Regions from separate parts of the Homo sapiens genome. Here regions 1 and 2 are each linked to region 3. Evidence: promoter capture Hi-C in human tissues and cell types (Jung and others, 2019). All regions are on one chromosome and are shown on one strand. Each heading gives the region's core, a stretch centred on a gene start or on the middle of the fragment in contact. The rest is flanking DNA. Distances are from core to core; before and after follow the strand shown.

What was found. The method cuts DNA at HindIII sites, captures the fragments that hold promoters and counts their contacts. A contact is called where the count stands out against the background at its distance.
Region 1: a fragment that was not itself captured here is called in contact with the fragment with the promoter of LRRTM1 in region 3 in 2 of the 25 tissues and cell types used here (spleen and thymus).
Region 2: a contact is called between a fragment that was not itself captured here and the fragment with the promoter of LRRTM1 in region 3, in 2 of the 25 tissues and cell types used here (ovary and spleen).

The regions. Positions count from the first base shown.
Region 1 is chr2:80,248,938-80,252,894 of GRCh38, reverse strand. All of the region lies in intron 7 of CTNNA2 (catenin alpha 2), which reads right to left. Among named protein-coding and RNA genes, the nearest start is that of LRRTM1, 54 kb to the left of the region's middle. The HindIII fragment of the contact is 4,389 bases long and covers 1-3,957 here.
Region 2 is chr2:80,344,210-80,348,079 of GRCh38, reverse strand. The region is part of intron 7 of CTNNA2 (catenin alpha 2); the gene reads right to left. All of the region lies in intron 2 of LOC105374824 (a long non-coding RNA gene), which reads left to right. Among named protein-coding and RNA genes, the nearest start is that of LRRTM1, 41 kb to the right of the region's middle. The HindIII fragment of the contact is 3,351 bases long and covers 1-3,093 here.
Region 3 is chr2:80,303,298-80,306,918 of GRCh38, reverse strand. It overlaps LRRTM1 (leucine rich repeat transmembrane neuronal 1), which reads left to right and starts at 2,167. Exons shown (of 2, transcript NM_178839.5): 1 at 2,167-2,767; 2 at 3,041-3,621. The coding sequence starts at 3,100. The region is part of intron 7 of CTNNA2 (catenin alpha 2); the gene reads right to left. RefSeq lists an enhancer at 2,725-3,350. The HindIII fragment of the contact is 15,461 bases long and covers 1-3,621 here.

The DNA.
Region 1 (3,957 bases), core at 642-3,141, 54 kb after region 3:
ATGCTCTTTGCAAAACTCACCAACTTACCACTCCCACTCACCCTACCCATTACGCCTCCTGCAGATACATCACCTTGCAAACAAGTCGCCGCCTACAAGTCCTCTTGTAACCTCGTGAGCTTGCATAACTTCTATTATAACATCATCGAGTGAAGGCACAGTCAACCACTAGTCATGGTAAAAAGCACCTAGGACATATTTCTGAGCAACTACAGGGCAATTTATTTTCCATCTGCCCAGATCCATGTCAACAGTTCACTTTCTGACTTTTGAAATCACAAAGAGTTTCTGTTGACCAGAATTTATCGAGCTGTTTTAGAAAACACCTAATGTCAGCAAAGGGAACTATTTTTATCACTGCATGTTGTTTAACAGCCCTTGATGGTGATCAAATTTACTGCATCTATAAAAGGCAGGACAACCCAAGAGGCTGAGCCAAGAACTTTGAATTTCTAAAGAACTAAGCATTACACAGCAAAGATTCTAGCTAACACCTCACAAAGCAAGGAATAAATGGTGCCACTAAACAGAAAAGTAAAGGCATAAAGAATTAGGCATATAACCAAACGGGTAAGTATTTAAATTATCTTCTTAATTCTAAGCCCTCCTCAGAGTTTAGTAATCCAGAAAATATTTATTGAGCAGTAACTATGTGCAAGGTTCTGTTCCAGATATTAAGAGGGTCAGTAAATAAATAAATAAGACTTCATCCTTTTCCTTCAAGAGCTCCCAAAATAGTGAGGCACAGAGAGATGTAAATAACTTACCGTAATATCTAATAGGATGTTTTAAGTATTATAATAGAGGTCTAAGCAACATGCTGAAGCTTGCCCAGAGGAATTGACTCTAGAAAGTTTTAAAAGTTTATTATACAAACAAAATTTAACAATTTGCAAGCAATAATGTGGATTAAATCAACTTCTTTTGACTGAAAATTAATTAAAATAACTAAAACTGCAGCCATTTAAAACGCTGACATTTTGTCTACAAGTTTATTACTAGAACAGGGATTTCAAAATGTGAAGGCAATTTTCTGGTAAAAGTTGGCTAGACTCCACCAGAAAGAGGAAAAGGCGTTAGCTCCAATGACTCTTAATTAAGTATTTGTAGGTAGTACTTCTCAGGTAACTGGATTAATATGGGGCCCAAAGCAGGTTTTGCTGTCTGCCATTTTCTTTTTCCTATTTTTGTTTCTAGCCTTCCAACAATTCAGAAATGAGCAATCATCCAATAACAAAGAGAGCCAGAGCCAAATGGATCAGATCGTGGCTAGACTTAGGAGAAGTTATATCACCTGTAGAAAGTTAGGATCTTTGGTTTGGTTGGCTTTCTTTATAATGTAATGGGAGTCATCACCCTTACTGGTTCCATGGGAGCCTGCTAGAGCCTTCTTTTTCATTACACAGTTTAAGAGGGTTTCATTCAGGTCCCCCTCTTCGTATGGATTTCCATTTTTCAAACTGGGAAGTTGGTGGGGGCCTCTGAACAGAGGCCAGTGATTGCAGTGGTAGAACACCAAACCAAGAATGAATGTCAAGACTGATTATTTGAGCAAACTCACTATATGGTACCAATTTGATTATTGCTTTCAATATCATTATTTAACAAATGGCATCTCAAAGAAGGAGAAAACAATATGTAAAGTTTAAGGAACATGCCGGGTGCCGGACGTAGTTGGCACATGGACTAGATGGACACCAAGATGTGGGTTCTAATAAGCCCTGCATCAGTGCTACTAAGGACTTACTTAAAATTGTCCATAAACGTGTGGGAAGAAACACCATTGAGGAGATATTAAAAGGGTACACTAATCACTCATGACTAAAATTAAAGTATAAAAATGGTACAGATAACAACAGCAATATTCAGAAGGTCAGACCTCCCTTAAGACTCCCTTAAGACTCATTTAGCCCATAAGTTGATGACTACTCTAGAGTTAATTTTTCCCCTTGAAGTATTTGTATTGGGTGTCTGGGGAGAGTTTAATACCTACCAATATCATAGTATGCATAGCACTAGAATTGGAGTGTATTTAGACAACTGTAATCCATTTCCCTAAATTGTATAGCTTAGGAAACTTAGGTTCAGAAGATAAAGTATTGCCCAAAGTCACTAAATGTTAGTGCTAGAGCCAGAACTAGAAGTTCAGCATAGACAGAGGAAGCAGGCTGCCTCTGAACCTTTTATTTTCTCCTCAGCCACAGCCCTGTGTCCTGCATGCTCATTATCCCAATGGAATGACACTTACTAACCTCTCCACTGGCCCATAGCATCAGATCCAGAGGGCAGTCTCCAAGTGTGTTCTCTAAAACATTCCACCTTCCTGGAACCCTCTGCTCCATTGAATGGAGCCCCTTTCTCTTAATTTTCTTCTGACTTCTCTGACTCCTTTTTCTCATTCACTATCACAGGTCTCTAAAATGTTGGTCTTCACTGGACTCCCATCCTCAGCCTGCTTCTCTTCTATCTTTGCGTTTACTCCCTGAAACATCTCTGCAGACTTATATGGATCATATGCTAATAATTCCTGGTTATATGCTAATAACTCCTAAAGGAATATCTGTGAGCCAGACTTGACCCCTGAGCTGCTGATCTCCTGGGCATCTCCATGTGGATTCCCTATAGTCATTCAAATTAACATGTCACCAACTTATTTCAAGACACACACACACACACACACACACACACACTCTCTCTCTCTCTCTCTCTCTCCCCCCATCCATGTATCTATCTACAAATGTGTGTGTGTATCGTGTCAGAAATAATATAGTTGTAAAAAGTGCTTTGAGCTTCAAGTTAAAGACACAGGGCCTAAGAAAGGGGGCGAGGCAAAGAAACAAGAAGCAAATGATTCCATCTTGTATATATGGGAGGAGGGGCTGGAACATGGTTCAATTCTTTCGACTCATAATCAGTTAAATGTAAGTTGCAAATTGCTTCAGAAAATAATAGAAAAAGAACAGAAAGAAAACATTAAGAAAATATAAAAAACAAATAACATGAAGCAAGATATCAGAAGTAACATTATTAAGCTATAAACATAATAATGATGAAGAATTTTTAATAACAGGTATGCTATGGTTTTTCATAACATGGGATGCTTAGTGAAATAAAGCAGGCTATGAAATTGCACGCATATGGATCACAACAATGTGTAACATGCCAGGATGTTGACAGGCAGCTGAATGTAATAGTTTTAAATATGTATCTTAGAATCCCGCAGAACAGGACTTGAGTTCCTAATCCACGAAGCACCAACTGTGTGACCGTGAGCCACCTATCAAACCCACTGTGCCTCAATGTCTTCTTCTTTTTTAATTAATATAATAATAGTAGTTTGTTGGTGAAGATTAAGTTAAAACTATCTTCCAGCTTTAGGAAAGTTCCAGGCACAAAGTACATGCTCAATAAGTGGTTACAATGATTACACTATTAACAGCTTGGTAAACAGTATGCCAGTGTCTTTGATTCATTCCCTAAGAGCTCCCTTCGCAAAGCAATATTGGGGACAAAGCTTGGAAGGGAAGTAAGGAGGCCTGAATCCTGGCTCTCCAACTATCAATAAAAAGCTCAGTGATGTTGAGTAATCCACCTGAATGCCCTATGCGACGAGGAGCTGGTCTCAATGCTCCTGCAGGTTCTTTAGAACTCTATCATAATGGTCAGAGGAAGGATAAATAAAAGGAGAAAAACAGTGTCAAACATGGACTCTGGCCCTTTCTTTGTGTTTTGGTTTGCCTTGCCTTCCAGGTTACTCTCTGTAGAAATAAAAGCATGCTGTGGAAATGAAACCACATCATCACCTTTTCTTCTGGAAGAGCCTGCTGATGATGGAGGAGAGAAGGGCACTGCAGGCTCTTTCTACTAAAACCCTGATTAGAAAAGTAAATCAGGCTCTGCCACCTGACCGTGCAATCACCATGTTCAGCATGTAAATGATATGGATTTCCACTTTTA
Region 2 (3,870 bases), core at 169-2,668, 42 kb before region 3:
GCATTCTGGTTCTGCTCTGAACTAGAGGCTCTCAAACTCTGTTGTACCTTACAACCACCTGGGGAGCTTTGGAAACCCATCATGATCGAACTGAATCCCATACCAATAAAATCGGGCACTCTGACTGCAGGACCCAGGTGTCAATCAGTATTTTAAAAACTCCCCCCAAGGTGCTCCCAATGCACAGCCATGTTTGGGAAACAGGGCTTTAAACAACCCTTCTGGAAAAAAAAAAAGAAAAGAAAAGAAAAAGGAAAAGATAATGTGCAAATGAATCAGCTGGGGATCTTGTTAAAATAAAGATCCTGAGGTGTGGACACCAGAAACTGCCTTCCAAAAAGCTTCTAGGGTATTCTGATGCTACTGCTCCGGAACTACACTTTGAGTAGCAACCCTAAATCCAGTGTCAACAGCTAAGTATCCACATGGAATGTCAGATACAGTTTGTTGCTTATTTCCATTATGCAATGTGAGCTCAAAGAACACATGCTCCTCTTACTATTACCCCTCCCACCTCCATGAAAAGTTACTGAGAGTCTAAGGAGCGCTGTGCATTTCAAAATCAAATATAAATGAATTAGGTTGGATCGTTCATGTGACTGCTCCTCTCCCCTGGTGATGACATTCGTGGGCACATATATAATACACAGGCACTCTGCTAAAGCAGTCCAAAGCAAGTTTTCTTCGAAATCTCTACACTTGTCTTGGGGCTTTAGCTGAATTTCCTGTTAAATGGCATTAATGAGGACTCAGAGAAATAAAACCACAAAAATTGGTTTTACAGTGTAATGTGGGGAAAGTGACCAAGTGTTCACATGGAGGAATACATTCAACTCATCCCCACGTCCTGTAACTCCGAAGTGAACATTCATGATTTTGAGGCCATTTCCAATTGAAGGTGTCAGCCTAGTAGGGGCAGAGCGCTGAATCTGCCACTGCGGTGCTCGCTGATTGCTATATAGCACAAAGCTTGGTTTATCTCTAGCAGGAAATATGAGTCCACAGATAGCAAAGACTATTTACTGTATCAGCTTCTCTGCAGCCTTTAATCAAGACAGGATCCCAGCATGTAAGTCCAGATCTTCAAACCTTTCTAGCGGAAGCATGGTCACCCATAAATCCTTAATTCACAGAGACCATTTTCCTTAAGAAGTGCTGAGGGCAAAATTCTGCTGTCTTAGAACTTCTCAGCAACAAATGTGCCATTTTATTCAACACATGGGGGTACCTACCTAGGAGATGAATACAGAATTTTAAATTGGAAAGGCAGAAATTAAAATAATTTCATTCCTGGACATTTACATAAACCTCTTTCAAACATGATCTTGTAGGCATTTCCTTTTTAAGGTTTGTGAAATTTAGATAAATACCTTGGGAAGAGAGAAAGGGAGCTTTGGAAATGCATCATGATCAAACTGAACCCCTTATCAATAAAATCAGGCACTCCGATGCTGAGAGAAAGGAAAATGGAAGAACTTGAGGAGTATAAGCAGAAAGCTACAAAGGTGATACAGTTTGGATATTTGTCCCCACCCCAATTTCATGTTGAATTGTAATCCCCAATGTTGGAGGGTGGACCTGGTGGAAGGTGTTCGGATCATGAAGGCAGGTCCCTCATGAATGGCTTGTGCCATCCCCATGGTGATAAGTGAGATCTCTGAGTTCACACAAGATCTGGTCATTTAAAAGTGTGTGGCACCTCTCCCCGGGCACTCTCTCTCTTTTACTCTTGCCTGCTCCCACTTCACCTTCTACCATGAGTAAAAGCTTCCTGGGGCCTTCCCAGAAGCAGAGGCCAGAGCCATGCTTCCTGTACAGCCTGCAGAACCATGATCCAATTAAACCTCTTTTCTTATAAATTACACAGTCACAGGTGTTTCTTTAAAGCAATGCAAGAATGGCCTAATACAAAAGAGTTCAAACATGATTTTCCCCCTTGTAAAATTATGCTAGCGAAATTAAGTCCCCGAAACAAAATAAATAAACAGATCTGAATTCCTGTAGTTCAATTAAATGGTTCAAAAAAATTGTGATCAGAAATGAGTTCCAGTTTTATCTTTCTTATAAATAATTGTGTGAAAATGGAAAATTATTTTCTCCTTATGCCCTTTATCCTCAATCTGCAGGCCACCATGATTTAAGCAGTAGCAATCATCCAACAGACAATAGTAGAGTTTGGCTTTATACTTTGCCTCTTCCTCTAGGCCACGTATGATTAAACAGGAGTTCTTGGGTGTGGAAAACATCCTTGGAAAAATTTAAGAAGATACATTAGCTTTAGAATTTTAGTACAAATTATGTGGGTATAACTTTTTCTAAAAAAAAGTTTCCATAGATTTCATCAAATTTTAAAATAGTTCATAGTCTGTAAGCTAGAAAAGATTAAGAACTATTGAGTCATTCATTCAATTTTTTTTTTTTAAATTAGTCCCTACCATGCATCAGGTACTCTTCCGGGCACTGATGATATAGCAGTGAACTAAACATACAAATATCCCTGCCTCCTAGAAGCTTACATTCTTCTGGGAGGATGCAAACAATTAATAAAATAAGTAAAATAGATAGCACACCAGATGATGATAAATGATACCGAGAAAATAAAGCAGAGATAAAAGCCAAGGCTTGGGAATTGTGATTTAGAACAGTACAGACAAGGAAGGTCTTATGGAGGAGGTGCCACTTGAGCAAAGACTGAGGGGCTGGAGAAACAAGTCATGAATGTCAGTGGGGCAAGGGCCTTCCAGACAGAAGGACCTGCAGATGTAAATGGCTCTGAAGCAGGAACATTGCTGAGAATGGCAATGGGGCTAGTGTGCCAGGAGCTGAATGAAGAAGAGCAGTGGAAGGTAACATCTGTGAGATAAGGGGGAGGGGGCCACAGATGTGGCAGCTATAGACCACTGTAATGATTTTGGCAAACCACTGGAGGGTTTTGAGAAGAGAAATGATTCATTCTAGTTAGATTTTCTAAGGATCACTCTGGCTATTGTGTTGAGAATAGACCTGGAAAGAGGGTGGCAAAGGTGAATATAGGGAGAGCCATTAGGAAGTATTTGTAAAAATTCTGATGCAAAATGATGGAGATTTGGTAGTGATCGGAAGTGGTGAGAAACAGTAAGTGCCCAGATCTATTTCAGTGTAGAGGCAACAGAGTTTGCTAATAGATTAGACATGGAATATGAGAGGATGAAGGGACCCCAAGGCTTTTGGGATAAAGCACTAGGACGATAGAGTTGACTTTGATGGACTTGGGAAGAGCAGATAGAGAGGGATGGTCACTAATTTAGTTTCGGAGGCCATGTGTTGTGGCTCACACCTGTAATCTCAGCACTTTGGGAAGCCAAGAAGGGAGAATCACTTGAGCTCAGGAGCTCAAGACCAGCCTGGGCAACATGGAGAAACACCACATCTACAAAAAATACAAAAAGATAGCTGGGCGTGGTGGCGCAGGGCCATGGTCTCAGCTACTTGGGATGCTGGGGCAGGAGGATCACCTGTGCCTGGGAGATCGAGGCTTCAGTGAGCCAAGATCATGGCACTGCACTCCAGCCTGGGTGGCAGAGTGAGACTGAGGGAAGACATTTGGGAATGTTAAGATTGAGACACCAATAAAACATTCATGTGTTGACATTTCATAGGTAGTTGGATATAGGGATCTGGAGTTTAGCAGGTAAGCTTGAGTTAAAGACATAAATTTGGGAGTCAGCAACAAAAAGATGATATTTAAACCCTGACCCTGGAGAAGATCACTAAGGGTGTGGGTGTGCATCTACGAAAATGTCCAAAGACTGAGGTAGGAAGCCCTCCAGAGTTAAGAGATCAGGGAGATGAGAAGGACCTAATATGGAATGAAAAAAAAGAAATCCATGA
Region 3 (3,621 bases), core at 918-3,417:
TCTGCCTCTCTGCACCAGCTCTACAAATCAAGTGACATCCAAAGTGGGACCTCTTCTTGCCCATTTGGCAGCCTCTGTCACCACTTTGCCAAGCAGCCAGCATTAGGAGGATTTTTTTTTTTCCTAGCAACCCTAGGGATTGGGTGGTGTGTACTCACAGTACTCGCTGAATGGCTGGCCGCTGTTTAACCCTGCGGGTGCCTCCTCAACACCCCTCCCCCACCTCCCAACCCTTTAGAGTTTATGGCTCCATCAGCTGGCCTGCTGTCACGAATAATTGTCTTGGCAAGAGGTGAAACCACTTGATGGTGAATTTGTTTGTCTGTCTGTTAAAGTGTTCCGCAGCACCTTGGAGGTGCCAGGATGAAACATGCAAATGCCTGATCCAGAGTTAGGTAGGCAGCAAGAGTGACAGAGAGGCAATCATCAAGAATGGCAAATTAAGAAAGAAAGAAAGAGAGAGAGAGAAAGAAAGAAAGAAAGAAAGAAAGAAAGAAAGAAAGAAAGAAAGAAAGAAAAGAAAAGAAAAGAAAAGAAAAGAAAGAAAGAAAGAAAAAACCATCTGTGCCAGTTGCAAGCTGTATGACCTTGGATAAACCATGATGTCTCTTGGCCTCAGTTTAGTCACGTGCAAAATTAAGGGGGTTGATTTTCTAATGTCTCTTCTAACTCCTAAGACAGCATGTGATGTCTAGGACATTTCAGATTTGTGTTCCTTCCAATTAAATGATACATCTCAGAGATGAATGACCAGGGCAGAGCTCAGATGAATACAAAATGGAATGATTCATGCCCCTGTTCATATGACTTTTCCTGAAAAGTACCACCAGTCTTTGGTGACTTTGATTCCATTGGTTGGCCTCTTCAGCTTAGATGCTAAGGACCAATCCAGTTACTTGTCCAGTCTATCTACCCTGGCTCTGGTAATCCACCCTCATTCCTATCAAAGTAAGTGCCACTACATATAATGCCTACTGATTTTGACTTCCTTAGAGGCAGAAACGATGGGAATTCAAACAGTGGAGCTGGAGACTCACATTTGACTCTCCCTACCATCTCCCTGGGCATCTTTGTCAAGAAGGAAGGCTTGCCCACACTCACTTCCCGCAGGCTTTCTCAGCCATCTTGGAGGACTTTGTTTAAACAGATGACCAACTGACCCTCCCCAGGGCAGACCCTCTACAGACCAGTAGGCACAAGGTGTGTGTGTGGGGAGGTGGGGGGAGAGCTCATTGTAAGGACTCCTATCTATAAATGATTATGAATAGAAATAATGAGGCAAAGGCTTCTCGTCATACTCAGAGGAAAAAGTGGCACAACTTAGTGCAGTCTCAAAGATTAATTAGGATGTGTGTATGGAGACGGGTAGGCTTCATTATGGCTTAAACTATCACGTCCCTACACATTCACACTCTCTTGGAGTGGGGTGCACTGCAGGGCCCAGTAATCACCATGAACAGCACAAGTCAGGGTAAGCCCTCCCCATGTCAGACAGTACAATCGTTCTTTAATCCACTCTGTACCCCATATGTATCTGTGGAGCCTGATGAAGCCCCGGAGGGATCTCAGTCAAGTCTCCCTGCACACAGACATACCTTTTTGCCACACTGGATCTCACACCACCGGGACTTGGATGGCTTCCCAAACTAGGTGGGTTTGGAAAGCATTTCCCCTCTCCACCTCAAAAAAGGGCTGGCTGACTGCAGAATTCCAGTACCCGCAAGAGGGGGAAAAAACCCCAAAAATCTTAGCCAAGCCCCAAATCATTGCCTTCCTGTGTCTTCTCTCAAGTTGCTTTTCTAAAGCAAAGGTCCAAACGTTGATTTCTCTACAGATTCCTACGTATCTCTTACACGTAGACAGTTTTAAAGGGGAAAAGAATATATCCCCAAAAGGCAAGGGGGAGAGCACAGAACATTTCAGTTTCCCACTTGGAAATATCTTGTCGTGGATGATGCTACCCCTACCTCCACCTCCCTCCCCCCTCCTTTTTTTTTTTTTTTTTTTTTTTGAAATATGGACAAAAAAGCTGAAAGTGTTTTCCGTTTCATCAAAAAACATATATTACTTTAGTGGTTCGGTAAAATGTTGGTTTTATGCCCACCCCTTTTCAATCTGCCCATGTCTGAGGTGCTCGGGGAAGACGCACAATCGTGAGCAGCTTACGACACTCAGTGAGCAGTAGGTGCCTGTGCAAGCTCGCGCCGCACACTGCCTGGTGGAGGGAAGGAGCCCGGGCGCCGCTCGCCGCTCCCCGCGCCGCCGTCCGCACCTCCCCACCGCCCGCCGCCCGCCGCCCGCCGCCCGCAAAGCATGAGTGAGCCCGCTCTCTGCAGCTGCCCGGGGCGCGAATGGCAGGCTGTTTCCGCGGAGTAAAAGGTGGCGCCGGTCAGTGGTCGTTTCCAATGACGGACATTAACCAGACTGTCAGATCCTGGGGAGTCGCGAGCCCCGAGTTTGGAGTTTTTTCCCCCCACAACGTCACAGTCCGAACTGCAGAGGGAAAGGAAGGCGGCAGGAAGGCGAAGCTCGGGCTCCGGCACGTAGTTGGGAAACTTGCGGGTCCTAGAAGTCGCCTCCCCGCCTTGCCGGCCGCCCTTGCAGCCCCGAGCCGAGCAGCAAAGTGAGACATTGTGCGCCTGCCAGATCCGCCGGCCGCGGACCGGGGCTGCCTCGGAAACACAGAGGGGTCTTCTCTCGCCCTGCATATAATTAGCCTGCACACAAAGGGAGCAGCTGAATGGAGGTTGTCACTCTCTGGAAAAGGGTGGGTAAGACACTTTTTAATTAAATTCTTTCCCGAAGATTTTTTTTTTCCTCCCTTTTCTTTGCTGCAGCATCTAACATGGACCAAATCACCATCTCTTTGATCTTTCCGTGGCTGTGAACTTTCTATGCTGCCCAGCTTTCTGCATGCTTAGAGGTGAACGTGTGGTTTTTGGGGAGGGGGGTCCTTCTTTATTTCTATGTATTTATTTGATTTTTTGCCCTTTTCTCCCCCTCCCCCGCTTCCCCTCCCTCGGAATAAAATATGATGTAGATTTCTGACCGAGCGCTTCCAATGGACATTCTCCAGTCTCTCTGGAAAGATTCTCGCTAATGGATTTCCTGCTGCTCGGTCTCTGTCTATACTGGCTGCTGAGGAGGCCCTCGGGGGTGGTCTTGTGTCTGCTGGGGGCCTGCTTTCAGATGCTGCCCGCCGCCCCCAGCGGGTGCCCGCAGCTGTGCCGGTGCGAGGGGCGGCTGCTGTACTGCGAGGCGCTCAACCTCACCGAGGCGCCCCACAACCTGTCCGGCCTGCTGGGCTTGTCCCTGCGCTACAACAGCCTCTCGGAGCTGCGCGCCGGCCAGTTCACGGGGTTAATGCAGCTCACGTGGCTCTATCTGGATCACAATCACATCTGCTCCGTGCAGGGGGACGCCTTTCAGAAACTGCGCCGAGTTAAGGAACTCACGCTGAGTTCCAACCAGATCACCCAACTGCCCAACACCACCTTCCGGCCCATGCCCAACCTGCGCAGCGTGGACCTCTCGTACAACAAGCTGCAGGCGCTCGCGCCCGACCTCTTCCACGGGCTGCGGAAGCTCACCACGCTGCATATGCGGGCCAACGCCATCCAG